Regions from separate parts of the Homo sapiens genome. Here all the other regions are linked to region 2. The links are contacts of gene promoters, found by promoter capture Hi-C in human tissues and cell types (Jung and others, 2019). All regions are on one chromosome and are shown on one strand. The core of a region is centred on a gene start or on the middle of the fragment in contact, and the rest is flanking DNA. Distances in the headings are between cores, read along the strand shown. Region 1 overlaps EEA1 (early endosome antigen 1). Region 2 holds the start of UBE2N (ubiquitin conjugating enzyme E2 N). Region 3 overlaps EEA1 (early endosome antigen 1). Region 4 overlaps EEA1 (early endosome antigen 1).

The links. The method cuts DNA at HindIII sites, captures the fragments that hold promoters and counts their contacts. A contact is called where the count stands out against the background at its distance.
Region 1: a contact is called between a fragment that was not itself captured here and the fragment with the promoter of UBE2N in region 2, in 1 of the 25 tissues and cell types used here (psoas muscle).
Region 3: a fragment that was not itself captured here is called in contact with the fragment with the promoter of UBE2N in region 2 in 1 of the 25 tissues and cell types used here (pancreas).
Region 4: a contact is called between a fragment that was not itself captured here and the fragment with the promoter of UBE2N in region 2, in 1 of the 25 tissues and cell types used here (aorta).

The regions. Positions count from the first base shown.
Region 1 is chr12:92,827,888-92,830,786 of GRCh38, reverse strand. EEA1 (early endosome antigen 1) reads left to right here. Exons shown (of 29, transcript NM_003566.4): 12 at 2,726-2,875. Among named protein-coding and RNA genes, the nearest start is that of EEA1, 100 kb to the left of the region's middle. The HindIII fragment of the contact is 8,478 bases long and covers 1-2,899 here.
Region 2 is chr12:93,440,497-93,443,642 of GRCh38, reverse strand. UBE2N (ubiquitin conjugating enzyme E2 N) reads left to right here and starts at 1,696. Exons shown (of 4, transcript NM_003348.4): 1 at 1,696-1,788. The coding sequence starts at 1,759. RefSeq lists silencers at 1,291-1,750, 1,831-2,040, 2,191-2,330, 2,361-2,480 and an enhancer at 1,161-1,798. The HindIII fragment of the contact is 20,755 bases long and covers 1-3,146 here.
Region 3 is chr12:92,810,297-92,813,521 of GRCh38, reverse strand. EEA1 (early endosome antigen 1) reads left to right here. Exons shown (of 29, transcript NM_003566.4): 16 at 429-542; 17 at 2,088-2,243. Among named protein-coding and RNA genes, the nearest start is that of PLEKHG7, 110 kb to the right of the region's middle. The HindIII fragment of the contact is 3,829 bases long and covers 1-3,225 here.
Region 4 is chr12:92,881,985-92,884,962 of GRCh38, reverse strand. All of the region lies in intron 2 of EEA1 (early endosome antigen 1), which reads left to right. It also overlaps the pseudogene HNRNPA1P50. Among named protein-coding and RNA genes, the nearest start is that of EEA1, 46 kb to the left of the region's middle. The HindIII fragment of the contact is 3,784 bases long and covers 1-2,978 here.

The sequences.
Region 1 (2,899 bases), core at 340-2,839, 610 kb after region 2:
TTATGGCCTAATGGATTAAGTTGAGGTCCCTTGTTATGACATGCACTATCCATAGTGATCTTGTTGGCTCACCTCCTCAGCAATTTACCCTTCTTTTCCTTATTCTTCACTGCAAGAATATGGAAGTGTCTTTAGTTTTTTCCTACATGTGTGCTGTGTCTTGCTTTTGTTGTATCATTCAGTCTGTCTTCTTGACCTGAAATATTCTTTTTATTCCTCTTCACCTTGATAGATACTATTTACTTCACTTGTCACTTTTTATAATTTTTTTTTTTAGGGAACAAGATCATGCTCCTTATAGCAATGTGGATGGAGCTGGAGGCCATTGTCCTAAGCGAGCTAATATAGGAACAGAAAATCAAATACCACATGTTCTCACTTAAAAGTGGGAGCTAAATATTAAATACATATGGACACAAAGAAGGGAACAACAGACAGCCAGACCTGCTTGAGGGTGGAAGGTGGGAGGAGGGTGAGGATCGAAAAACTGCCTATTGGGTACTATGTTTATTACCTAGGTAATGAAATAATCTGTACACCAAACCCCTGTGACACGTAATTTACCTATATAACAAACCTGCACATGTATCCCTGAACCTAAAATAAAAGTTAAATATTTGAAAAAATTTAAAAAATATATTTAGGGGGTAAAAGTGCAGATTTCTTGCATGTATGTGTTGTGTAATGTTGAAGTCTGGACTGTTAGTGTACCCATTGCCCGTATAGTAACCATTGTACCCAACAGGTAATTTTTCAACCCTCACCCGCCCCCCCCACACTCTCCCTAAAAATCCTTTCTAAACATGCCACTGCTTCCCCACACCCAAGATAGCTTAAGCATGTACATATCTTTAATATTTTACTTATACCATAATATAGTTTATTATCATAATTTATGTCTTTCTTTAATAGACTCTGAACTCTTCGGGTGCAAAGACCATCTCTTACTCATTTTTTATTTTTACTGCCTGGCATTTGGCTTGTTTTTTGTTTTTTTTTTTTTTTTTTAAGACAGAGTTTCACTTTGTCACCCAGGCTGGAGTGCAGTGGCATGATCTCGGCTCATTGCAACCTCCATTTTCCGGGTCCAAGCAATTCTCGTGCCTCAGCCTCCTGAGTAGCCGGGACTTCAGGCACATGCTACCACACCTGACTGACTTTCTGTATTTCAGTAGATATGGGGTTTCACCATGTTGCCCAGGCTGGTCTCGAACTCTTGAGCTCAGACAGTCCACCCTCCTCAGCCTCCCAAAGTGCTAGGATTACAGGCATGAGCCACCGCGCCCAGCCAGCATTTTGCTTGTTAATCTGCCTATGTTTTAGTGAGTGAATGAATGAATAAATATAAGCATTCATAGTGGAAGGAAACTGAGCCATGGGGATATCAATGAATAACTTAAACTAACTTACATATTTGAGTTTTAGTTCAGATAAACAAATTTAGCATTTATGCTTTCTTTTTTTCTTTTTCTTTTCTTTTGAGATGGAATCTCACTTTGTTGCCTAGGCTGGAGTGCAGTGGCGAGATTTCAGCTCACTGCAACCTCTGCCGCCCGGGTTCAAGCGATTCTCCTGCCACAGCCTCCTGAGTAGCTGGGATTACAGGCCTGAGCCACTGTGCCTGGCTGCGTTTATGCTTTCTAAAAGACACATCCCTCATTTACTAGGGGATACATAAATGAGTAAGAGACAGTACCTACCTTTAATAATTGTGTAAATATCATGGAGAGGATAAGGCAAGTACTATCTATCATACCAAAGATTATGAGAATTATAATAAAAGGATTCTGTATATTATGGGAAATTGGAAGAGTTTCTTTCTTTTGTTCCCCCTCTTAGTACTTCAGCTGTTGTAATTTTTAATCCATTTATGTGATCAGGAAATCTTTGTGTTAGAGAGAGGAGGTGGTACTTGGAATTGGGAATATCGGATAGGTTTTGACAGGTGGCAGTTCGAAAGCAGATGTGTCTCACAGCCAGAGGGATTAGTGAGAGCGAACTAGTGGCAGGAAAGTGTTGTAAGAGGTAGGAAGGAACACTGATTTGCTGTTAGGATAGGGTATGTATAACAGGGTGGACTACTCGTGATGGTTCTTAACTCCCTTAGTTTTAATTGGGTGGCATTTGTAAAGTTAATGAATGAGGGTCACCATATATATATATATATGATATATATATGTACACATATATATATCTATATATATGATCATTTCCTGTATTTTATTTAGAAATTATGTGCCAGTATGAGGACTTGGGAATGCACTGGGCACTATCCAATACCCAAATGTAAAAAGTTAACTGTAGTAGTTCTTGGCTATGGAAAACCAACAAGAATCACTGTGGAACTTTAAACAATACTGTAAAATAGATCTGAGTGTGTACTAAGTGTCTTAATTTTTAAGTTGTATTTTATTCTTTTAAGTTCCTGAAAGTTCCAACACTTATATCCAAACAAGAACCTGCATTTGTTTTAAGAGAGCAGTAACATAACACAAAAACAAAAATTGTGATGTTTAACGATAATTTTATGTGATTCATTATAATATATGATTAAAATTCAGTTGCAGTTAAAATTACTGTATAAAATCTTAGGTTTCCCCAAAGTATCACGAAAATTAAGATATTGTACTTATTTTGGTGAAAAGTAAAACATTGTTTGGAAAGTAGGTGGTGCTGTGTGTGTGTTTGTACATATGTACATACATTTTTTTTTCTTTTTTTAAAGTTACATAGCAAACTTCTGGAGACAGAGCGCCAACTAGGGGAAGCTCATGGTAGGCTGAAGGAACAGAGACAGCTTTCAAGTGAAAAGTTGATGGATAAAGAACAACAAGTGGCTGATTTACAACTCAAACTTTCTCGGTTAGAAGAGCAGGTAAGCTAGCATTTTCAATTTATT
Region 2 (3,146 bases), core at 447-2,946:
TGCCTACCAGCATGAATTATCCTGGGTCCTCTATAAAATATTCTGAAAAGTATCTTTGTCCAGTTTCATTTACTTTTGCAGATTCTTCTAGTCACAGAACCACCTATTGCAGACTTCTGGTTATTTGAAATTCTCATTATTACCTCTGAACCTTGGCTTCTCATCTAAAACGTTCTGTTAATAATAGAGACTACTTCATCTGTTTCATAATTGAATGATGTATTAAATTTATTAACCATTTAGCATCGTGCCAGCACAAAATATTTCTTATTGTTCTTAGTAGGTTTCTTGTATTCAGAGTTCCAGTTTCTTTAGTGCACTATTTTTTCTCTCTCATAGCTCAATGCCATTTCACAGGCCATTTCCTATGCTTGGCATACTCTTCCCTACAAGGTCAGGTAGGTTCTTACTCATCATTGAGGACTTCACTTATTTAAGAAGGCTTCCCTGAGTTCTCAAGCAGTTAATGCCTCTCTGCTAAAATAGCACCTTGGAGGAACCTGTATTACAGACAGCCCTTAACACATTGGATTGTAACTAATTGTTTACTGGTCTCTCTTCTCCATTGGAATCTAAGTTCCTGGAAGGCACGGTCAGTCTTGTCTTCATTTATTCACCATCTACTGTCTGTTAGTGTGCTAGGAAACACTGTGGTTAAGTAGTTAAGGGCCAGGTCTTGGCGGATCTGCCTGGGGACAAAACAGCTCCTTGGAAAAGGTTAACTATCTAAGCCTCATTTGTAAAATGGAAACAACACCTCCTCACGATTGCTGTGAAGATGAAGTAAAGTGCTTGCAAACAGTCCATCACACAGCAAACCATCCGTCATCAGGATAAAACGCTTCCCCAACAATTCAATTTTCGGGCACCCCCACTCTAATTCTCTCATAGGACCTCGCACTCTATAGGTAATCTCTGCTTTACGGATTACTCTGGGTTCTTTAAACCTCTCCTTGGTCATTCGTCCTGTTAACAATTCTGAGTCTCAACCTTTAGGTCTAGGCGTTCAGAACCATTCTTCCCGCCTCCAACTCGCTCCAAACCCTTTTCCTTCAGCCTACCCTGGGCCTAGGGGCGTGTCAGAGGTCCGATTTATACAATTTAAACATCAAAACTCCCCCAACAGCGTGTGAGTAACTGGAGAGACCCCCAGTCAGAGCTTTGCCACCGAGTTTCGGTCTTGCCCTCCCTTTGAGGAAGGAGCAAGACGATGAGCCCCACCTCAGTCGTTCACTGCAGAGCCAGCAGGGAACGCGCGCAATGCAGGCTGAGCTGAAAGAACGAACGCGTGAGCTGAAAGAACGAACGCGTGAATGAATGAATGGGATACGTCGTAGGCCAGGCCTCTGTTACGTCGTCCACCGGCGCGGGCGTGGCCACGGTTAAGAGAGACGCGCGCGCAGTCGCGCGCGGGTCGTGCCGTACCACCGTCGCGGGCAGGCTCGGCCACGAGCGCCAGAGCCCCGCGCCTCCCCTCGCGGCCTGTCCCAAGTCCCTGCCCCGCAACAGAGCGTCACTTCCGCCATCCCCGGCAGCGGTTGGGGCGGGGCGCACGGGGGAGGGGGCCAGGTCGGAGGGAAGCCCGCCCGTGCCCGAGCCCGCGCCCGAGCAGGGACTACATTTCCCGAGGGGCCTCGGCGGCGGCTGCGGCGACGGGCGCGGCAACGTCCCCCGGAAGTGGAGCCCGGGACTTCCACTCGTGCGTGAGGCGAGAGGAGCCGGAGACGAGACCAGAGGCCGAACTCGGGTTCTGACAAGATGGCCGGGCTGCCCCGCAGGATCATCAAGGTAACCGCCCAGGCCGGCCTCCAGCTCTTCGCTCTGCTCTCGTCGGCTCAGCTGGGCAGGCAGCGCGGCCTCTCGCCTCCTTCGGCCCGCGGCCCGCTCTGGGAGGCCCGAGGCGGCGCGGAGAGGGGTTGGCCGCGGCGGCGAGGGAAGTCGGGTGCTGAGGAGGGGGCGCCGGGGAGACTTCCGGCCGCGGCGGGGCAGCCGGACAGCGGGGACCCGGGGCTTCCAGGCGGCTGCCCGGCGGGCCAGGGAGTGCTGTCCCACGCCCCGGCGGAGGGTGGGGCGGCAAGGCTGGGGGTCTCTGGGCTTGGGCGCGGGCCTCCATAGCTTCTGAGACCACCCCCCCGCCGGAGGCCGCGGGCGCGCGGGAATCGCGGCGGGGCTCGGGCGCCTGGTGGGGATTGTGGCCCGACAAGGTCCCTCGGCAGCCAAGCCCCTCTTCTCCGCCCCGACGGGGCCGCGGAGGTGCGGCAACCGCGGGTGCAGAATGAATGAACCGGGAGGGTCAGGCCGGGCGGGGCCCTGCGCCCCGGGAAGTGGCTCTGGGAGGCCCGCGCGTCCTGCCGCGGTCAGCACATGCTCGCCCCTGGTTGCCGCGGCTGCCTGGGTCCCGGGACGTGGGGGCCCCGCGCCCCGCTGCCCTTGCTTCCGCGATCTCTCTCTTCTGAATACGTTTCCGCTCGTTTATCTCTGCGAAGTGATTTTACTCTGGTTGGCAAACTCTTTCAGAGCTGTTCCGAGGAAATAGTTTTAACACAAGGCTGGGGGAGGGCCGCAGTTATGGGGGATTCTCTTTCTCTCTCCTCTTCTCTCCTCTCCTCTCTTTTTCGTAGATATGAGGCCTCGCTATAGTGCCCAGGCGGCTTCCAAAACTCCTGGCTTCAGAGATCTTCCTACCTTGGCCTCTGTGGGGGATCTCGTGAAATCTTTTGCCCCTCAATTTTGTGCGTTTTAATTATTAATTGGCTGTTTATGAATACTGTGTTTTGACAAGTATGTATGGAACCATGACATTTTCGATTCTTTGATTTTGTAAAGTCTTAAGGAAATATCGACAAGTCTTCAGACGTGAGATATTCCTTGTCATCACAACAACTAAACCTTAAATTTTTGTGTCGGTTTTTATGAAGGAAATTAGTTGCACATTTATGTGACTAAATGCGCCAGTTAAAGTGACTCAATTGCAGCATCATTTTGCTTGATATAACCTGGTGAACGTGTATGTTAATCTTGCTCATTCTTGTGAAATCTGTGGGGAGATGCATACTAAGTGGAAGACCTGTTAGGCTTCGAGGATGATGTACTGTATACTGCTTCATCCAATTGCATTTAAATATATCTGAGATGAGGGAGATGTC
Region 3 (3,225 bases), core at 629-3,128, 630 kb after region 2:
GTTGTCTGGCTGTTTTGAGTCATTGAATTCTGTAATTCTTGATTATCTTCGGAGTAATCATTTTTTGGGGCATGGTTATTTACTTTATCATAATAGTGGTAGACTTTCAGATACTCACTTCTGAAAATACAGTGGCCTTTTTTGGAAAAAAAGTGTACCTTTTCTTTCTTAGCAAAGGAATACTAAAGTGTTTTGGAATCACATGAGGATATCTTTTTATTATTTATCCAGCATTATTAGGAGTCTTCTCCCCTATCATTCCTATTTTGGCGATTTTCACATACATATTTTTCAATATATAAATCCATATGTTTTTGCCAAGGACTTAATTTTTAAATAGTTTGTTTAGTCACAAAAGGAGTGTGCGTTCAAGCAAGAGGAAATCAAGAACTAAATATAAATTAAATAATTTGTAAATGCTGTTACAGATTAAAGCCAAAACCGAACTATTACTATCAGCAGAAGCAGCAAAAACTGCTCAAAGAGCTGATCTTCAGAATCATTTGGACACAGCTCAAAATGCATTACAAGATAAACAGCAGGTAGGGAAACAGATGCAATTTCATACTATCACCTAGTGCTTTGGTAGATAAATAAATTGCAAACATGTAAAGATGATACCCAGTTTTGTATAATCTTGTGATAGACTTGCTTATCCCCCTTAATTTCTCCATGAGTTCCAGTTGAGTAGTAAAAGTGGGGGTCACATAGATGGAGATAAAAATAACAGCTTTGTTTTTGATAAATTTCTACTAGTGTGCAGGTGTGGTTGGTTTCCTGATATTGTCCTTCTCCCCTAGCCTAGACCTTGGTGTAGAGCAGTAATGTTTCCTCCTAACTTTTGAATTGTTGCCCCATCCCTTCAAGTGTTGGTGATTGGATGGGGCAGACCACCACATTTGTTTTTAGTAGGTAGACTGGACCATGACCCAAATGTACTTGCCACTTGGAAACAGGAAAAGAACACTGTATATTCTACCTCAGTTATAAGAGTTACTCCTTTCTTGGTAATAGGAGGAAGTGAGGAGCTGGAGGGAATACAGAAGCGATACTCTGGTAGAATAGAAGCATCCTACTTTAGGGTCACGGTGAATGTTGCTGGTAGATTTTTCTTAGCTTTTACTGGTAGAAATTTTTAAAATTTACTTGTTATTCAGGGAGTAATATTAGTTATTGGTCTTTTTTTTTTTTAGATGGAGTTTTTTGCTCTTGTTACCCAGGTTGGAGCGCAATGGTGTAATCTTGGCTCACTGAAACCTCCACCTGCCGGGTTCAAGCAATTCTCCTGCCTCAGCCTCCCAAGTAGCTGGGATTACAAGCATGTGCCACCGTGCCTGGCTAATTTTGTATTTTTAGTAGAGACAGGGTTTCACCATGTTGGTCAGGCTGGTCTCAAACTCCGACTTCAGGTGATTCACCCACCTTGGCCTCCCAAAGTGCTGGGATTATAGGTGTGAGCCACCGCACCTGGCTTTATTGGTCCATTTTTTAAAAAACAATACAGAAGTATATCAAGTTAAAAAACAGAACAAAACAGTTTTCTATATTTACCCTTTATGAAAAGCCCATTTGAATGGAATGTTTGCTGTTAAATTTGGTATGTGTCCTACTTTTGGTACATAGTAGATTTACTAGTAATTTTTATTTTATTTTTTTTTTTTTGTGCAACTGGATATTCCAAATGAATTGAAAAGCATCATAAATGTAAACACTGTAATATTTTTAAAAAATAGTTTTAAAAATTGGTGTCTTGAACATTGAAAATATTTAATTATAATATAAAAGTGTTATTTTATTATTAGCCTGGCTAATATTTGGCTCCTAAAATAATTCTTCCTAGATAAACATTGAAAAGTTATTAAACTGTTATACATATAAACTTAGGATCTCAGACTATGCAAGAATTTAGTTCATGTCGTTTATATTGGTAGGTAAGTATAGCCTCTGATATATCATTAGATTTATCTGAGCTCTTACTCCAAATATTTTTTTAAATAAAATTAGAGTTTTCAATTTTACGTTGAACATTTGGCCACTACAATATAGTAAACCTTACCAAAGTTTTCTTCAATTGTACTTTTCTAAAGGAGTTAAATAAGATTACTACTCAGTTGGATCAGGTCACTGCAAAGTTACAAGACAAGCAAGAACATTGCAGTCAGCTGGAAAGTCATCTTAAAGAATATAAAGAGAAATACCTCTCTTTAGAACAGAAAACCGAAGAGCTAGAAGGTCAAATTAAGGTTTGTATAAAAGAAGTTGAATTTAGTCATATTTTCTACTTCAGTAGCAATGGAATCTCATGACCTACATGGAATCAAAGATTTTTAGTTAACAAAGAAAGGTGAAGTTGTGGTATAAAATTTTTAAAAAATTGCTTGTAATTTTTCATGTCTTAAGTTTGAATTCTATCTTTATTTTTAATGTCTCCCTTAATGAGCATCTTTTATAAATGACAGTCAACTTACATACTGATTCCATTGTAATGTGTTACTTTTTCCAAAGACAGATAACCAGGTATCTACTCTACCATTACAAGGAACTTCTCAATTTTTTGTTGTGAAGTCTCTTCTGTTCCTTCATTCTTCCATCTCTTACCAACTTACTCCAATATCACATTTCAGATATGGTAGACTTTTCCTTTTTAGAACTTTATACCCTTTGGATTTTGCTTCTAATTTAAAAACACATTGAGACTATGATAAACTGTATCTTACTTTAACACAACTCCATATGAATGTGTTGATTTACTGAAGAGATAAGATGATTAGACATCTCAGAAGGATTTGACCTGAGTTTTTGTGTCCTTCAAATTAGAACCGCTTGCTGCTTAACTGCCTTTGGCTAAAAATAAAAAAAAAAAAAATTTTTAAAAATTGAGCTACTATCAGTTAAACAAAAACTTCTCAAGTTACTATATATGTAACTTATACTTCCTCAACCCGGTGAAGCGTGTGTGTATAAGTTTAGAGTCATGAAATGAATATATGTACATACATACCAATATAGTATGGGGGAATAATTACATTTACAATTCTGTTTATAGGTTCCTTTTTCTTTATGACAAACGATAATAGCAAAGGCAAGGTACTTTAGGCATGGTTAAAAATAACAGAAGTATTATTTTACTGAAAAGTGTCTAATGAGAATTCTTTTTGGGTACCTATTAAAAATAGTGGTTATTTAGAACTGAGTTTTTATTGTGATTATCAGCTCTAACACTTT
Region 4 (2,978 bases), core at 176-2,675, 560 kb after region 2:
AATCTACATTGAAACCCTTTGTTGGAATGCTTTACACTTTCCACAGAACAGAAACTAAAATGACTTGTTATACAATTAGTCACAAATACAGTCCTCGAGTTTTTTGCCCATACCCATGAGTATTTGTCTAAAACAGGTCTTCTTTGTAGCAGCTAGGCCCTGCCACCACTGTGCTTGGCTGAGTTCACAATCTGTTGTAACCTGTAGCTTCCCTGTCACTTCTCTGGCTCTCCTCTCCTGCTAAGCTTTGTTTCCTAATTAAAATCTTCTGCCATTGCCATAGCTACTGCTGCTACTGGAACCACCATAGCCACCTTGGTTTCATGGTTTGGCAAAGTATTGGCCTCCACCACCATAGGGGCCAGGGCTTCTGCCTCCAAAGTTTCCTCCCTTCATGGGTCCAAAATTTGAAGACTGATTGTTGTAATTGCCAAAATCATTGTAGCTTCCACCACCTCCAAAATTGCTTCCATCATTACCAAATCCATTATAGCCATCCCCACTGCCACCATATCCACCACCACCACTGAAGTTTCCTCCACTACCAGTGTTGTCATTCCTGCCAAAACCACCTCCACGACCACCGCCAAAGTTTCTAGAACCACTTCAGCCTCTTTGGCTGGATAAAGCCCTAGCCATCTCTTGCTTTGACAGGGCTTTCCTAACTTCACAGTTGTGGCCATTCACAGTATGGTATTTCTGAATGACAGTCTTATCCACGGAGTCATGGTCGTCAAAGGTTACAAAGGCAAAGCCCCTTTTCTTGGCACTGCCTCAGTGAGTCATGATTTGAGTCACTTCAATTTTTCCATACTGTTCAAAATAATCTCTTAGGTGTTGTTCTTCATTGTTTAATGCCACCAACAAATATCTTTTTCATAGTTAAGTGGGCACCTGGTCTTTGAGAATCTTCTCTTGAGACAGCTCTCTTTGGTTCCACAACTCTTCCATCCACCTTATGTGGCCTTGCATTCATGGCTGCATCCACCTCCTCCACAGTGGCATGTGTGATGAACCCAAAGCCCCTGGAGTGCTCTGTGTTTGGATCTCTCATTACCACACAGTCCGTGAGCGTTCCCCATTGCTCAAAATGGCTCCTCAGGCTCTCATCGGTTGTTTTAAAGCTCAACCCTCCAATGAAGAGCTTCCTCAGCTGTTCGGGCTCTTTAGGAGACTCTGACTTAGACATGACGGAAGGGAGAAGAGAGACTTTAACGATGCTTCTTCAGTGGCGTCCGCGGGCAGAAAAGAACAAGCTGATGAACGTGTCTCACTGTATTCTTACGATAAAGTAAGATAGAGAAAAGAAAATATTATTAAGAAAATCATGTGGCTTATGCAGAAAAATGAAACTGGATTCCCTACCTTTCACCATATAAAAAATTTAGCTCAAAATAGATTAAAGATTTAAATGTAAGACCTTAAACTATAAGAATTTTAGAAGAAAACCTAGGAAACATCATTCTGGACATTAGTGTCGGGAGAGAATTTATAACTAAGTCCTCAAAAGCAATTGCAACAAAATCAAAAATTGACAAGCCGGACTAATTAAAGAGCCTCTGCACAGTGAAAGAAACTATCGACAGAGTTAAGAGATAGCCTGCAGAATGGGAGAAAATATTTGCAAACTGTGCAGCCAAGTTTGCAGATATCAAAGGTCTAATATCCAGAATCTGTAAGAAACTTAAACAATTGAACAAGCAAAAAGCCCCATTAAAAAATGGTCAAAAGACACGAACAGACACTTCTCAGAAGACATACAAATGGCCAAGAAACGTGACAAAATGGTCCATATCTCTAATCATCAGAGAAATGCAAATCAAAACCGCAATGAGATACCATCTCACACCAGTTAGAATGGCTGTTATTAAAATATTAAAAAACAAATGTTGGTGAGGCTGCAGAGAAAAGAGAATGCTTATACATTGCTGGTGGGAATGTAAATTAGTTCAGCCACTGTGGAAAGCAGTTTCGAGATTTAAAGAACTTAAAACAGGACTACCATTCAACCCAGTAATCCATTACTGAGTATATATCTGAACAAAACAAACTGTTCTACCAAAAAGACATGCGCATTTGTATGTTCATTACAGCACTATTCACAATAGCAAATAAATGGAATCGGACTATGTGCCCATCAATGGTGGATTGGATAAAAAAAAGAAATGGTACATATATACCACAGAATACCACACAGGCATAAAAATAACAAAATCATATTCTTTGTAGGAATACTGATGCAGCTAGAGGCTATTATCCCAAGCAAATTAACACAGGAACAGAAAACCAGATACTGCTTGTTCTCACTTATAAATGGGAGCTAAACATTGGGTACTCATGGACATAAAGATGGCAACAACAGAAACTGGAGACTACTAGAATGAGAAGGGAAGGGGGTGGGCAGTGGTTGAAAATCCGACTGTTGGGTACTATACTTAGTACCTGGGTGACAAGATCATTTGTACCCCAAAGCTCAGCATCATGCAATATACCCAGGTAACAAACCTGCACATACACCCTCTGAATCTAAAATAAAAGTGGAAAAAAAAAAAAAGATGCCAGGTACGGTGACTCATGCCTGTAATCCTGCACTTTGGGAGGCCGAGGCGGGCAGATCACCTGAGGTCAGGAGTTTGAGACCAGCCTGGCCAACGTGATGAAACCATGTTTCTACTAAAAATACAAAAATTAGCCAGTCATGGTGGCACGTGACTGTAATCCCAGCTACTCAGGAGGCTGAGGCAGGAGAATCACTTGAACTCAGGAGGCAGAGGTTGCAGTGAGCTGAGATCACTCCACTGCACTCCAGCCTGGGCAACAGAGTGAGACTTTGTCTCAACAAAAAAAAAAGAAAAATCATATGACTAGAAAGATTCCATAGAGCCAAAAAAGAAAAGGAAAATCGTCATAACAAAGAGAAAATATATTTACTATTCTTTAAGTGGAAGGTCATAAAGGTCTTCATTTTTGTCTTTATG